Regions from separate parts of the Homo sapiens genome. Here regions 2 and 3 are each linked to region 1. Evidence: promoter capture Hi-C in human tissues and cell types (Jung and others, 2019). All regions are on one chromosome and are shown on one strand. Each heading gives the region's core, a stretch centred on a gene start or on the middle of the fragment in contact. The rest is flanking DNA. Distances are from core to core; before and after follow the strand shown.

Region 1 (4,274 bases), core at 623-3,122:
CAAAGAAAAAAAGAAGAAGAAGAAGCGAGAGGCGATGGCGTTTGCTTTGGCCAGATTTAAGGGCAAGCGAGGCTGCGCGCGGCTCCCGCAGGGTCGGATCTCCGAGCTCCAGGGCGCCCCTCCACCCGGGTGTAGATTTCCCGCGGACCCCTTCGCCCTCCCGGGTTTCATCAGCTGCGCAGGAATGGAGCTGGCCAGAGCTCTGGGAGCGGGGAGGGAGGCGCCGCCACCAGAGGGCGCCGGAGCCCCAGCGCTGCGGCCGGTGAGCGGCCAGGCTCCCCGGCCCAGCCCAGCAAAGGCCTGGGGACGCCCGACGGCTGCCTTCTTCACTGGACCTCACTGCCTTCAGTTCTTTAAGAGCAGGGCCAAGTCAGTGGGGTTCCCGGCTCCAAGCCCAGTGCCCAGGGTGGGTGGGTGGGTGGGTGGGTGGGTGGATGGATGGATGGATGGATGGATGGAGTGCCGGCCCACAGCCATCTAACGGCCAAAGTGGTTTTGGAAAAAAAATGCACAGAAGACACCTACTCCCACCAGCGGAGTTCCGGAGCCCTCGCAGCCTCCTGTTGACCGCTCCCGCCTAATGCAGCCGCTGACCGCCCACTCCCCGACGGCCAGGACTCCCCAGGGACAGGGACGTGTCCCCAGGGCAGGCCCCTGGATGGACGCGGCGACTGACCCCACTTCGCTGGACGCTGTGCTGGGAAGGACACAGAGAGGTGGCTGGGGCAGCCTGCGGTCACAAAGCGAGGCCCAAAGGGGCGCTCTCCTCACCCCCACGTCTCCTGGGTGCCGACCTGCACCCTCCCTTCGCCACCGGACTGGGGCCATCTGGGATGTCTCGGGGGTATCCGGAGGGCTAAGCACCGCCGAGGGACGGCTCCGTGGGAAGAGTTTTCTGGACCCAGAAGGCAGACGCCAGTAGTACTGTCCTAGGAGTCGGAGGTCGGGGTGGGGGAGTTCTCAGCTCTTTGGGTCGCACGGAGCTTTTCTTGGGTAAGGCAGTAAGTACTTAGGTTTAAAGGACTTACTTACAGCTACCATTTATTGAGTACTGTCTGCTTGTCAGACACGATGCAGAGAATTTCGCGGCGTGGGGCGGGTCTCATTGAATCTCCCGTCCCACTCCGCGGGGTGGGCCTGTGATTAGCTCATTTCACCATTGAGAGGTCGGAAGTACAAAGGCTACATTCGCTTTTACTGAGAGCCGCCGGCGCCTTCTGCTTTGTTTGTACAGGCGAGGAAACTGAGGCTCGGCTGGTGGCGCCGTGGGCTTGGAGTCCGAGCCACGCTGACTGCAAAGACGGGTCTCATTCCCGCAGATCGAGCTCTGCCGGCGGCTGCGCCGCAAGCCGGGCAGGTGGCGAGCTTGAGCCCCCACGCACAGAAAGCAGGACCCCCTCGGCTGCCTTGGGCCGCCACCGCCAGCAGGCCCTCCGCCCGGGACTAACTTGTTTGCTTTTCATTGGTTCTCATTCAGTTCCCGCCATCGAAAGGCCCCGTCCCGCAGCTTTCCACGCGCGCCCCACTTTACGCCTAAGGTCCTCAGTCTCTCCAGTGGGGCCCTGTCACAGGGACAATAAGCGGCCCTCCAGCCGGCGTCGCTCAGGCTGCGGACCTCACTGCAGACCGGGCCAGCGGTGCGGGGCCCAGCGGAGCCTGAGAAGGTCAAAGGCCGGAGCGCACTGCGCCTCGGGAGCACAGAGGGAGCGGAGGAGGGGCGAAGGGGATGGGTGGGGGGTGCCGCCGAGGGAGTCGCGCGTCAGAGACCCCGGCCACGGCCAGCACTCGGCTCCGGGCCCGCCCCTCACCGCGCGCCCCGCCCCGCCCCGCCTGGCTCTCCCCTCTAAAGCGCCCGGCGCGCGCCTCCCACCGCCGCACTTTCACTCTCCGTCAGCCGCATTGCCCGCTCGGCGTCCGGCCCCCGACCCGCGCTCGTCCGCCCGCCCGCCCGCCCGCCCGCGCCATGAACGCCAAGGTCGTGGTCGTGCTGGTCCTCGTGCTGACCGCGCTCTGCCTCAGCGACGGTAAGTGCGCTCGGCGGGGAGGCCCTGGCGAGGCTCTGGGCTTCGGCTCCCGCCCGGCGCAGAGCCGCGGCTCCTCTGCCTGCGCCCGCAGTTTGCGCCGCCCGACACAGTGGGGGTGGAGGCAGCTCGCTTAGCTGGGCGCTCTGGTGCGGTGTCGCGTTCAAAGCCCTACTTTTGCGCCGAGGGTTTGTGACCTGCAGAGAGCGACCGCCTGACCTCAAGCTGGCTGCAGAGCGAGGTCAGCCGGGACAACTGGGCAGGAACGCCCCAAGAGAGCGTTCGGGACTGGCGCGGGAAGGCGCGAGGGTGGGGAGCCGCGGACCCCAGACCCCTGCCTGCCCACCCTCCACCCACTGCCTTCCCGCTGCGGGCTCGGTTTCCACAGGCGAATGGGCTCCGAGGTCCTGCTGCGCACAGTGCTGGAGGTCGGGCGGTGCATGGCGAGAGCGCGCTTTGCAAAGTTCGCCTCATGCCGCGACTTGAGGCTGTGAGGTCCGATGCAGCCGCGCAGCCTCCGCTCCCTGCGAAGCCGATCCTCTCCCCACACCCTCGCGGGGCTCTTGGCCAGGCGCGGGCGGGCTGCGCGGCGCAGCTGTCGGGCTTGTGCCACCCGCCAGGCCGCGCTTCTGCACAGCTCCGCGGTCCGCAGCGACGCGGACCTGGGCGCGCGTCCAGCCGCTGTCTTCCTGTCTCTTCTCGGGTTCACCTGAGAGAGGCCCAGGGACCCTCCGAGCCTCACACGCCCCCTCCCCAGCTCCCCAAACACACCTGCAGACAGGCTCTTTTGTCACCAGCTGGCCAAGCGCTTTGCCCCAGAATGAGAGCTGCAGCAAAGTTCAATCTCCAAGGCCCTGGGCCACTGGGAACCGTGGTGTCCCGTTTCACTGGGAGAGGGCTTTTTTCTTTTCTTTCGCTGAAGAGAAACTCGCTGCGCTGTCACAGGACACCGATGCAAACCAAAATAAACTGTTGCCTCTGAACACACAAAACAAAACCCTGTGGCTCAGGCCGCTGAGCTTCCTTGGCTGTGAAGTTTCCTGCAAAGAGTTGAAGGACACTCTGAGTGCTCTTGCAGCCGCGGGCTGTGCAGGCCCAGCGCGCCTCGAGCCCTTGGCTGGGTTGGTGCAGACGTGGCCCCGGCGTCCTAGCTGGCTTGGACTGTGCGCTGGTGTGAGCAGGACCAGCGCAGCTGAGTCGGGCTGGAGAAGCTGGGCAGCCTGGGGTCGTGGCGGACTGCCTAAGTGTTAAGGACACAGACTGAAGGCAATTGGGAATGTTCGTCGTTGATGAAAAGTCCCTGAGGCTGTGTCTGCACACTGACCCCCCCCCCCCCCCGCAAGTCATGGGGCATGTTTCTAGTTTTTATTGCTGGATATTCTTCTGTTCCTGTAAGGTCTCTGGTTTGGGCAGTTATTGACTGATTGGTGGGATGAGCGCGGAGGTGTCACAGTGCGCCGCTCTGGGAAATGGTGCTGCCCCCTCCCCGGAGGGCTGGAGAGAGGATTGGAATGAGGAACCTCGGTCTTTGAGTTATGGGTGCAACTGACCTGGGGGAAGCACAGAGACGTGGGGTTCATCCCAGACTCCTCCTGGCCTGGGAAGGGTGACATGGCCCTCAGAGTTGCCCCATTGGCAGCCAAGTAACCAGGGCAGGAGCCTGGGCTCCAGGCAGATCTGCTCCTTACACACATCGCCAGAATGTTTTGTTTTGTTTTGTTTTCCCCTCACCTCACAGTGCCTATGTGCCCCCTATCCCCACACTTAGTCCTCAAGCTGCACTACAGAGAGAGCTTGGCCAGGGGTCCTGCCCCTCCCCCATTGGCTGACTTCCGTCAGGCAGCTGGGCCCTTGGGTTTCCCGGGCTTAAACTCAGGGTGGGCCCCCTTCCCAAGCCTGCTTGGAGGGGCCAGCTGGGCTCCTGTCTCTGCATTAGACTGGAGGGCTTTCTGAAAACTCCTGGAGCCAAGCTCACCCGGTCCCAAATCCGGGGTACCATCAGAGCCAGTCAGGACTCTTGCCGGTACACGGATTTACATCCAGAACGGTTGGGAAAGTTAGTCTTACTGACAAAAAGCTGGAGGAAGGAGCACATGAGGTACACACGAGACCATGTTCTTTTGGTAAGCACACCTGGGGGCTCTGTCACTTTAAAAAGACCTGTTGAAATTCGCTGCTTGACAGGCGGGCCTTAGGTCCTGGGAGTAGAAGCAAGAATTGCTTTTGAAGGAAATGGATAATCCCAGGGGGTGG
Region 2 (4,274 bases), core at 591-3,090, 500 kb after region 1:
GTCTCAGTGAACGTAAAATCATACAAGTCATACAAAGCATGTTCTCTGACCACATGGAACTACTTTAGAAATCAGTAAAATAAAGGTATCTTTTAAAATCCCCAATTATGTAGAAAAAATAAGTAACACACTTCTGAATAACTCAGGGATCAAAGAAGGAATTAAAACAGAAATTAGAAAGTATTTTGAAGTAATTATAAATGAAAATGTAATATATTAAAATTTGTGATATACAGCTAAAGTATAATTTTATAGCACTAAATGCCTATATTAGAAAAGAAAGGTCTCAAATCAATAACCTCAGCTTCCAGTTTAAGAAACTAGTAAAAATATTTCAAAATACATGTTGTATACAATAAATATATACAATTTTTGTCAACGTTTAAAAAATAAATTAGAAAAAATATTTTCTTTTAAAAAATAGTTGTTATTTTTAAAAGAAACTCCAAATAAGCAGAAGACAAGGAATAATAATAAAGATCAGAGTGGATGTCAATAAAACAGAAAAAAGAAAAACAATATAGGAAATTAATGACGTCAAAAGTGGGATCTTTCAGAAGACCAATTAAATTTATAAACCCCCATTCAGACTGATCAGGAAAAAAAAGAGAAGACACAAATTAGTAATATCTGGAAGCAGATCACACATCACAACATATTTCAAGAATCCAAGACAGTGAAGATGGGTCCAAATGCATAAACCCCCCAAAAGTGAGGCTATGTAATGGTGTATCTACACCCAGAATGTGAGAATGGAAAACAATGCATGTTCCCTAGAAAATGATGGTGCACATCTCCATTTGTTGGCCCACAAAGGGGCTCCCAATAGCGTTAAGCTTAAAGAGTAGGTCGAAGAACAGTGGTTTTAGTCCGATGCCAATCAGGAAAAAGTATTGACATCTATTTCAAGAGGCATAAAGAAATACCTGAAAAAATGCTAATCTGAGAGTTAACAATGGCCATCTTAGGCTATTAGGACTCTGGGGATTTTTGGCAATGAGCTTGTTTCATTACACAATAAACAATAAAGCTATTTTTGAAAGTTTTTATTTTCAGATAGAAATTCATGTTATTGAGGGTGTGGGCAGTGTATCGCATACACTGTAGTATTACAACATTTTTGGAATATGATTTGGCAGAAGCTACTAAAAGTTAAAGTATGTATCTGCATTGACCGGGAATCTGATCTTATATAAATAATGGCCTTAGTATGTGAGGACTGCTGCATAAAATTTTGCAACCATGAACTCTAAGGTGCATCATTTTCCCGTTAGTCATCATGGATTTGTATATATTTTATAACAGTTTTCTGGCAGTAAAATGTCTTGGGGGATGCCTTTTTCTAACTGTCACAATTTGGACTAGCAGTGGTGCTCAAATAATGCAGGGATTTTGTTACACAGTTATTTGTGCAGACCAGAAGAAAGAGGAGGAGAAGAGAAAGGAAGGAAAAGGAGAAAAAAGGGGAAAAAAGAAGAAGTAGAGGAAGAGGAAGAAGGAAAAGAGAAAGAAGGAAGGGAAGAGGCTCAGAAAGACCAAGTTACAGAATACTCATATTATGGAATATTATGAAACAATTTTAAAAGAATATACTAGATCTATTTGAATTGACCTACAGTGATGTCCAGGATTTATTTGGGGGGACAGAGGCAAACTGCAAAACAAATGAAATAATAAGTCCTTAATTTTGTTTTGGTGGTTTTTTTTTTTAAGGAAAGAAAACATCCTTTACATTTGCTCATATAAGTTTTATGACAGCTAAGAAAACTGTGGAGGAATACATACCAACAGTTAACTCTCTTCTGTGGGTTTGGGGATGTGGGCATTATGTTTTTTCCTTATTTTTTAAATTGTATGTATTTAAGGAATACAGCATGATGCTTTGATATTACGTATTTATAGTGAAATGGTTACTACAGCCAAGTAGGTTAACATATCCACCAATCATCTCACATAGTTACATTTTCTTTTGTGTGTATGTATGTGACAAGAGCACCTAAAATCTACTCTAGCAAATTTTCAATATACAACAGATTTAACTCTAGTCCATTTGCTGTACATTAGGTCTCTAGACTTACCGTTTCAGATAACCGCAAGTTTATACCCTTTGACCCATATCTCCCCACTTCCCCCACACCTGCTTCCACCTCTGGTAACCACCTTTCTACTCTGTTTCTACGTATTCATGGTTTTTCTTTTTTAGACTCCATATCTAAGTGAGATCATGCCATATTTTTCTTTCTCTGTCTGGCTTATTTCATTTAGCATAATGTCCTCTAGTTTCATCCATATTATCATACATGGCAAGATTTTCTTCTTTTTAAAGGCTGAATAACATTCCATTGTGTATATCTACCACATTTTCTTTATCCAGTTATCCTTTGATTGACACGGCTTGTTTCCATATCTTGACTATTGTGAGTAATGGTGCCATGAACATGGTAGTACAGATATCTTTACAACGTGGTGATTTCATTTGAGTATATACCCAAAAGTGGGATTGCTGGGTCGTATGGAAGTTCTATTTTTATTTTCTTTAGGAACCTCCATACTGTTTTCCATAATGGCTGCACAAATCTACATTCCCACCAACAGGGTACAAGGATTCCCTTCTCTCTGTGCCTTCATCAACACTGGTTATCTCTTGTCATTTTTACAATAGCCATCCTAATAGGTGTAGGATGATACTTCATTGTGGTTTTAATATGCATTTCCCCAATGACTGGTGATGTTGAGTACCTTTTCTTAAACCCGTTGGCCATTTTTTTTGTCTTCTTTGGAGGAATATCTTTTCAGGCCATTTGCCCATTTTTTAATTAGGTTGTTTGTTTTTTTTGCTATTGAGTTGTATGAACTCCATAGGGATTTTAGCCCTTATCTGATATGTGGCTCGCAAATATTTTCTCCCACTCCATTAGTTGCCTTTTCAGTTTGTTAATTGTTTCCTTTGCTGTGCAGAAGACTTTTAGTTTGATGTAGTCTTTACTTGTTTGTTTTTGCTTTTGTTGCCTGTGCTTTTTGGAGTCATATTTTTAAAAAAATCATTGCCAAAGACAATATCAAGGAGCTTTTCCCCTGTGTTTTCTTCCAGGAATTTTATCGTTTCACATCTTACGTTTAGGTCTTTAATCAATTTTGAGTTGATTTTCATGAAGGTGTAAGATAAAGATCCAGTTTCATTCTTTTGCATGTGGACATCCAATTTTCCCAACACCATTTATTGAAGATATTATCTTTTCCCCATCTTGTCTTCTGGGTGGCCTTGTCAAAGATTAGATGACCATGTATACTTGCACTTATTTCTAGACTCTTTGTTCTGTTCCATTGGTATATACAGTATGAGTGTTTTTATACCAATACCATACCGTGTGATTATTACTGCTTTGTAATATAATTTGCAACCCAGAAGTGTAATGCCTCCAACTTTGTTTTTCTTTCTCAAGATAATTTTGGTTATTCAAGGTCTTTTATCATTGCATAAAAATTTAAGAATTTTTTTGATTTCTATAAAAAATGTCATTAAAATTTTTATAGGATTGCATTGAATCTGTATATTGCTTTGAGTAGTATGGACAGGTGGACATGATTTTTTATGTATATATTTCTCTATTGCATAAATTAATACTTTGAATATGTATCACTCTTTTGTCATCTAAAAAAATTTAAAATTTGAAAGCAAATTACAACTACCTAGGCCAACAATCTTTAAAGTTTTCTTCAGAATACTTCAGAACTCTATTGTCCTTTTGTTTTTCCAATATTCAGTTAAACTTACAGTTATTCCTTTATCTATGCATCCACCTGCCCTCTGCCCACACTCCCAGCCATCAACCAAAATTTAGTGTCTCCACCCATCCTGTCTGCAAGGAGCTGGGGACTCAGAACCTCCTGAGGAGTTGCTGGTGATCCCACAGGTAGCAAGGTAGACAGCAGCAAACAGGCACCCCACCACCTGGTGACAGCCTAGGGTATTGGAGCTAATTAGTGCACAGCAAGGCCCTGCTTTCTCCCGTTTGGTAATCAATATACCATTGGAAAAGTGAGTGTGGATTTCAGGTGACAGGGTAAATCTCAGGTGGACTTGTCATTTTGGAAGGATTATTTCTCAGTGACAATTCAAGAGACGAGCTATGTTAGAATCCACTGTGAGTCCAGTCAAATTCTTTCAGGCAGCCAACTGTCTCAGTCTCTCAGACAGTGTGTTTTTGAAGGAGCCCAGGTAGAGGATTTTTTAACACAATCAATGTTTGAGAATCACTTTTCTATAGACTCTG
Region 3 (4,274 bases), core at 910-3,409, 310 kb after region 1:
ACCCAATTCAGGAGCACCCAGATTCATAAAGCAAGTCCTTAGTGACCTACAAAAAGACTTAGACTCCCACACAATAATAATGGGAGATTTTAACACCCCACAGTCAACATTAGACAGATCAACGAGACAGAAAGTTAACAAGGACATCCAGGAATTGAACTCAGCTCTGCACCAAGCGGACCTATTAGACATCTGCAGAACTCTCCACTCCAAATCAACAGAATATACTTTCTCCTCAGTACCACATTGCACTCATTCCAAAATTGACCACATAGTTGGAAGTAAAGCACTCCTCAGCAAATGTGAAAGAACAGAAATTATAACAAACTGTCTCTCAGACCACAGTGCAATCACACTAGAACTCAGGATTAAGAAACTCACTCAAAACTGCTCAACTACATGGAAACAGAACAACCTGCTCCTGAATGACTACCAGCTATATAACAAAATGAAGGCAAAAATAAAGATGTTCTTTGAAACCAATGAGAACAAAGACACAACATATCAGAATCTCTGGGACACATTTAAAGCAGTGTGTAGAGGGAAAATTATAGCACTACATGCCCACAAGAGAAAGCAGGAAAGAGCTAAAACTGACACCCTAACATCACAATTAAAAGAACTAGAAAAGCAAGAGAAAACATATCCAAAAGCTAGTAGAAGGCAAGAAATAACTAAGATCAGAGCACAACTGAAGGAGACAGAGACACAAAAAACCCTTCAAAAAATCAATGAATCCAGGAGCTGGTTTTTTGAAGAGACCGACAAAATTGATAGACCACTAGCAAGACTAATAAAGAAGAAAAGAGAGAAGAATCAAATAGATGCAATAAAAATGATAAAGGGGATATCACCACTGATCCCACAGAAATACAAACTACCATCAGAGAATACTATAAACACCTCTACACAAATAAACTAGAAAATGTAGAAGAAATGGATAAATTCCTCGACACATACACCCTCCCAAGACTAAACCAGGAAGAAGTTGAATCTCTGAATAGACCAATAACAGGTTCTGAAATTGAGGCAATAATTAATAGCCTACCAACCAAAAAAAGTCCAGGACCAGATGGATTCACAGCCAAATTCTACCAGAGGTACAAGGAGGAGCTGGTACCATTCCTTCTGAAACTATTCCAATCAATAGAAAAAGAGGGAATCCTCCCTAACTCATTTTATGAGGCCAGCATCATCGCGATACCAAAGCCTGGCAGAGATACAACAAAAAAAGAGAATTTTAGACCAATACCCCTGATGAACATCGATGCAAAACTCCTCAATAAAATACTGGCAAACCGAATCCAGCAGCACATCAGAAAGCTTATCCACCATGATCAAGTGGGCTTCACCCCTGGGAAATTTTAGAACTAAACAATGCAACAACTGAAATAAAAATTCAGTGAATGGGCACAATGGCAGAATGTAGATGACAAAAGAAAATAAATCAATAAACTTAAAGATAGAGCAATAGCAATTACTCAATCTGAACAACAACGAGGAAACAGACTGAAAAAATTAGCAGAGCCTCATTTACATGTATGAATATAACAAAAGATTTAGCATGTCATCAAAGTCCTAGAAGAAGAGAGGGATCATGGAACTAAAAATGTTTTCAAAAAACAATGCTAAATTAACAAATGTGGCCAAAATAATCTATATATTTAGAGATGCAAGAAGCTAAATGAATTCCAAACGTGATAGATTCAAAGAAATTCACTCGAAGATACACCACAGTCAAACTTCTAAAAACTAAAGACAGATAAAGAATCCTGAAAGCAATAAGAGAAAGACAGCACATTGCCTACATGGGAAAAATAATTTAAATTACAGTAGATTTTTTTTTTTTTTTGAGACGGAGTCTTGCTCTATCGCCCAGCCTGGAGTGCAGTGGCACAGTCTCGGCTCACTTCAAGCTCCACCTCCCAGGCTCACGCCATTCTCCTGCCTCACCCTCCCGAGTAGCTGGCACTACAGTCACCCGCCACCACACCTGGCTAATTTTTTGTATTTTTAGTAGAGATGGGATTTCACTGTGTTAGCCAGGATGTCTCAATCTCCTGACTTCATGATCCACCACCTCGGCCTCCCAAAGTGCTGGGATTACAGGCGTGAGCCACCGCGCCTGGCCTACAGTAGATTTTTTAATCAGAAACCATGGAGGCCCAAGGGAGGGGCAAAACACTGTTCAAGTGATGTAAGAAATAAAACTGTTCACCCCAAATTATATATTCGCCCAAAATATTCCTAAGTAATAAAGGATGAATAAAGCTTCTCTCAAAGGAAAACTAAAAGAAGGGAAATAAAAATTACATTGAAAATGAAAATTAAAATGCAACATATCAAAATTTATGGTATGCAATTATGCAGTTCCAAGACTAAAATTTATAGCATTACATGCTTACATTAGAAAAAAGAAAAAGTCTCAAATCAGTGTTAAATTCTCATCTTAATAAAATCAAAATAAACCCAAAACAAGTAGAAGGAAGGAAACAAAAACAAGAGCAAGAATCAGTGGGATTGAAAACAGAAAAACAGTACAGAACTTCAATGAAAGTAAAAGTTTGTTCTTTGCAAAAGAAAATAGAATTCATTAACTTCTAGCAAAACTTAAAAAGAAAGAAGACATTCCAATATACCAGTACTGGTTTAGTATCCCTTATTCAAAATCCTTAGGACCAGAAGTGTTTTGGATTTGGGACTTTTTCAGAGTTTGAACTATTTGCATTACACTTATAGTTCAACATCCTTAATCTGAAAATGCAAAATCCAAAATGCTCCAATAAGCATTTCCTTTGAGTGTCAAGTCAGTACTCAAAAATTTTCAGATTTTGACGCATTTTGGATTTTGAGTTTTTGGATTACAGATATTCAACCATATCAAAAATGAAAAGATAGCTCTAGACTCTGCAGACATCAAACGAAAAATAAACACTATGAACATACATATGTAAATTTGACAACATAGATAAAATAGACAAATTATTCAAAAAGTACAAAGTACCACAACTCCTCCAATGTAAAATAAATGACTTGAATAATCCTGTAAACAAGTAGGAATGTTGAATTCATAACTATAAACCTCCCATAAGAGAAATATCCAGGCTTAGATGGTTTCACTGGAGAATTCTCCCAAATAGTCTGATATGGTTTGAGTCTGTGTCCCCACCCAAATCTCATGTCAAATTGTAATCTCTAATGTTGGAGGTGGGCTTTGGTGGGAGGTGATTGGATCATGTGGGCAGATTTCCCATTTGGTGCTGTTCTCATGATAGTGAGTGAGTTATTACGTTATCTGTTTATTTAAAAATGTATAGCACCTCCCTCCTCTCTCTCTTCCTCCTGCTCTGGTCATGAAAGACGTGCCTGTTTCCCCTTCACTTTCCGCCATGATTTTAAGTTCCCTGAGGCCTCCACAGCCATGCTTCCTGTACAGCCTGCAGAACCCTGAGCAAATTAAACTTCTTTTCTTTATAAATTACCCAGTTTCAGGCATTTCTTTATAGCAGTGCAAGAAGGGACTAATATGTGATCTAAGAAAAACCACACCAAATCTATACAATCTCTTCCAGAAAAAAAGAGAACATTTTCTAATATATTCCCTGAAGCCAATATTACCCTGATACCACAAAGAAAAAAAATTGCAAATAGAATTTAGCAATATGTGCAAAGAATATACACCATGACCAAGTATGGCTTGTTCCAGGAATGCAAGGCTGGTTAAATATTGAAAAATCGATCAGTGTAATCCACTATATTAATGGATGCTGAAAAAGCATTTGACAGAATTCAACACCCATTTATGACAAAAACTGTCACAAAATAGGGGTAGAGATAAACTTTTTCAACTTAATAAAGAATATCTACAAAACAGCTAACATTGTACTTAATGGTAAAAGACTGAATGTTTTCCCCCTAAGATTGTGAATGAGGCATGGATTCTACTTTCATGTGACACTGCTACTCAACAGAATACTTGAAAGGTTTAGCCAGCACATTAAGGCAAAGAAATGAAACGAAAGTCATACAGATTAAAAAAGAAATAAAACTGTTCCTATTTGTGGATGACATGATAGCCAGTGCAGATTAAAAAAAAAAGACTACCGAAATAAATTCTAGAATAAGTGAGTTCAACAAGATACAGGTTCACAGATACAAGATAAATATTTAAAAATCAATTGTATTTGTATACACTACCAATGAACATATGAAAACCAAAATTTTGAGTGCAATATCGTTGAAACATAAAAAAATACTGAAGTGTAAATCTAAGA

The links. Contacts are between HindIII fragments. The study calls those that stand out against the background at their distance.
Region 2: a contact is called between a fragment that was not itself captured here and the fragment with the promoter of CXCL12 in region 1, in 1 of the 25 tissues and cell types used here (lymphoblastoid cells).
Region 3: a contact is called between a fragment that was not itself captured here and the fragment with the promoter of CXCL12 in region 1, in 2 of the 25 tissues and cell types used here (IMR-90 fibroblasts and aorta).

Annotation. Positions count from the first base shown.
Region 1 is chr10:44,382,695-44,386,968 of GRCh38, reverse strand. It overlaps CXCL12 (C-X-C motif chemokine ligand 12), which reads left to right and starts at 1,872. Exons shown (of 3, transcript NM_199168.4): 1 at 1,872-2,024. The coding sequence starts at 1,964. RefSeq lists a silencer at 134-343 and enhancers at 2,237-2,928, 2,929-3,622, 3,623-4,274. The HindIII fragment of the contact is 18,967 bases long and covers 1-4,274 here.
Region 2 is chr10:43,885,712-43,889,985 of GRCh38, reverse strand. The region is part of intron 4 of LINC00840 (long intergenic non-protein coding RNA 840); the gene reads right to left. Among named protein-coding and RNA genes, the nearest start is that of LINC00841, 21 kb to the left of the region's middle. The HindIII fragment of the contact is 5,785 bases long and covers 1-4,274 here.
Region 3 is chr10:44,074,180-44,078,453 of GRCh38, reverse strand. No RefSeq gene overlaps it. Among named protein-coding and RNA genes, the nearest start is that of LINC02659, 160 kb to the right of the region's middle. The HindIII fragment of the contact is 3,561 bases long and covers 379-3,939 here.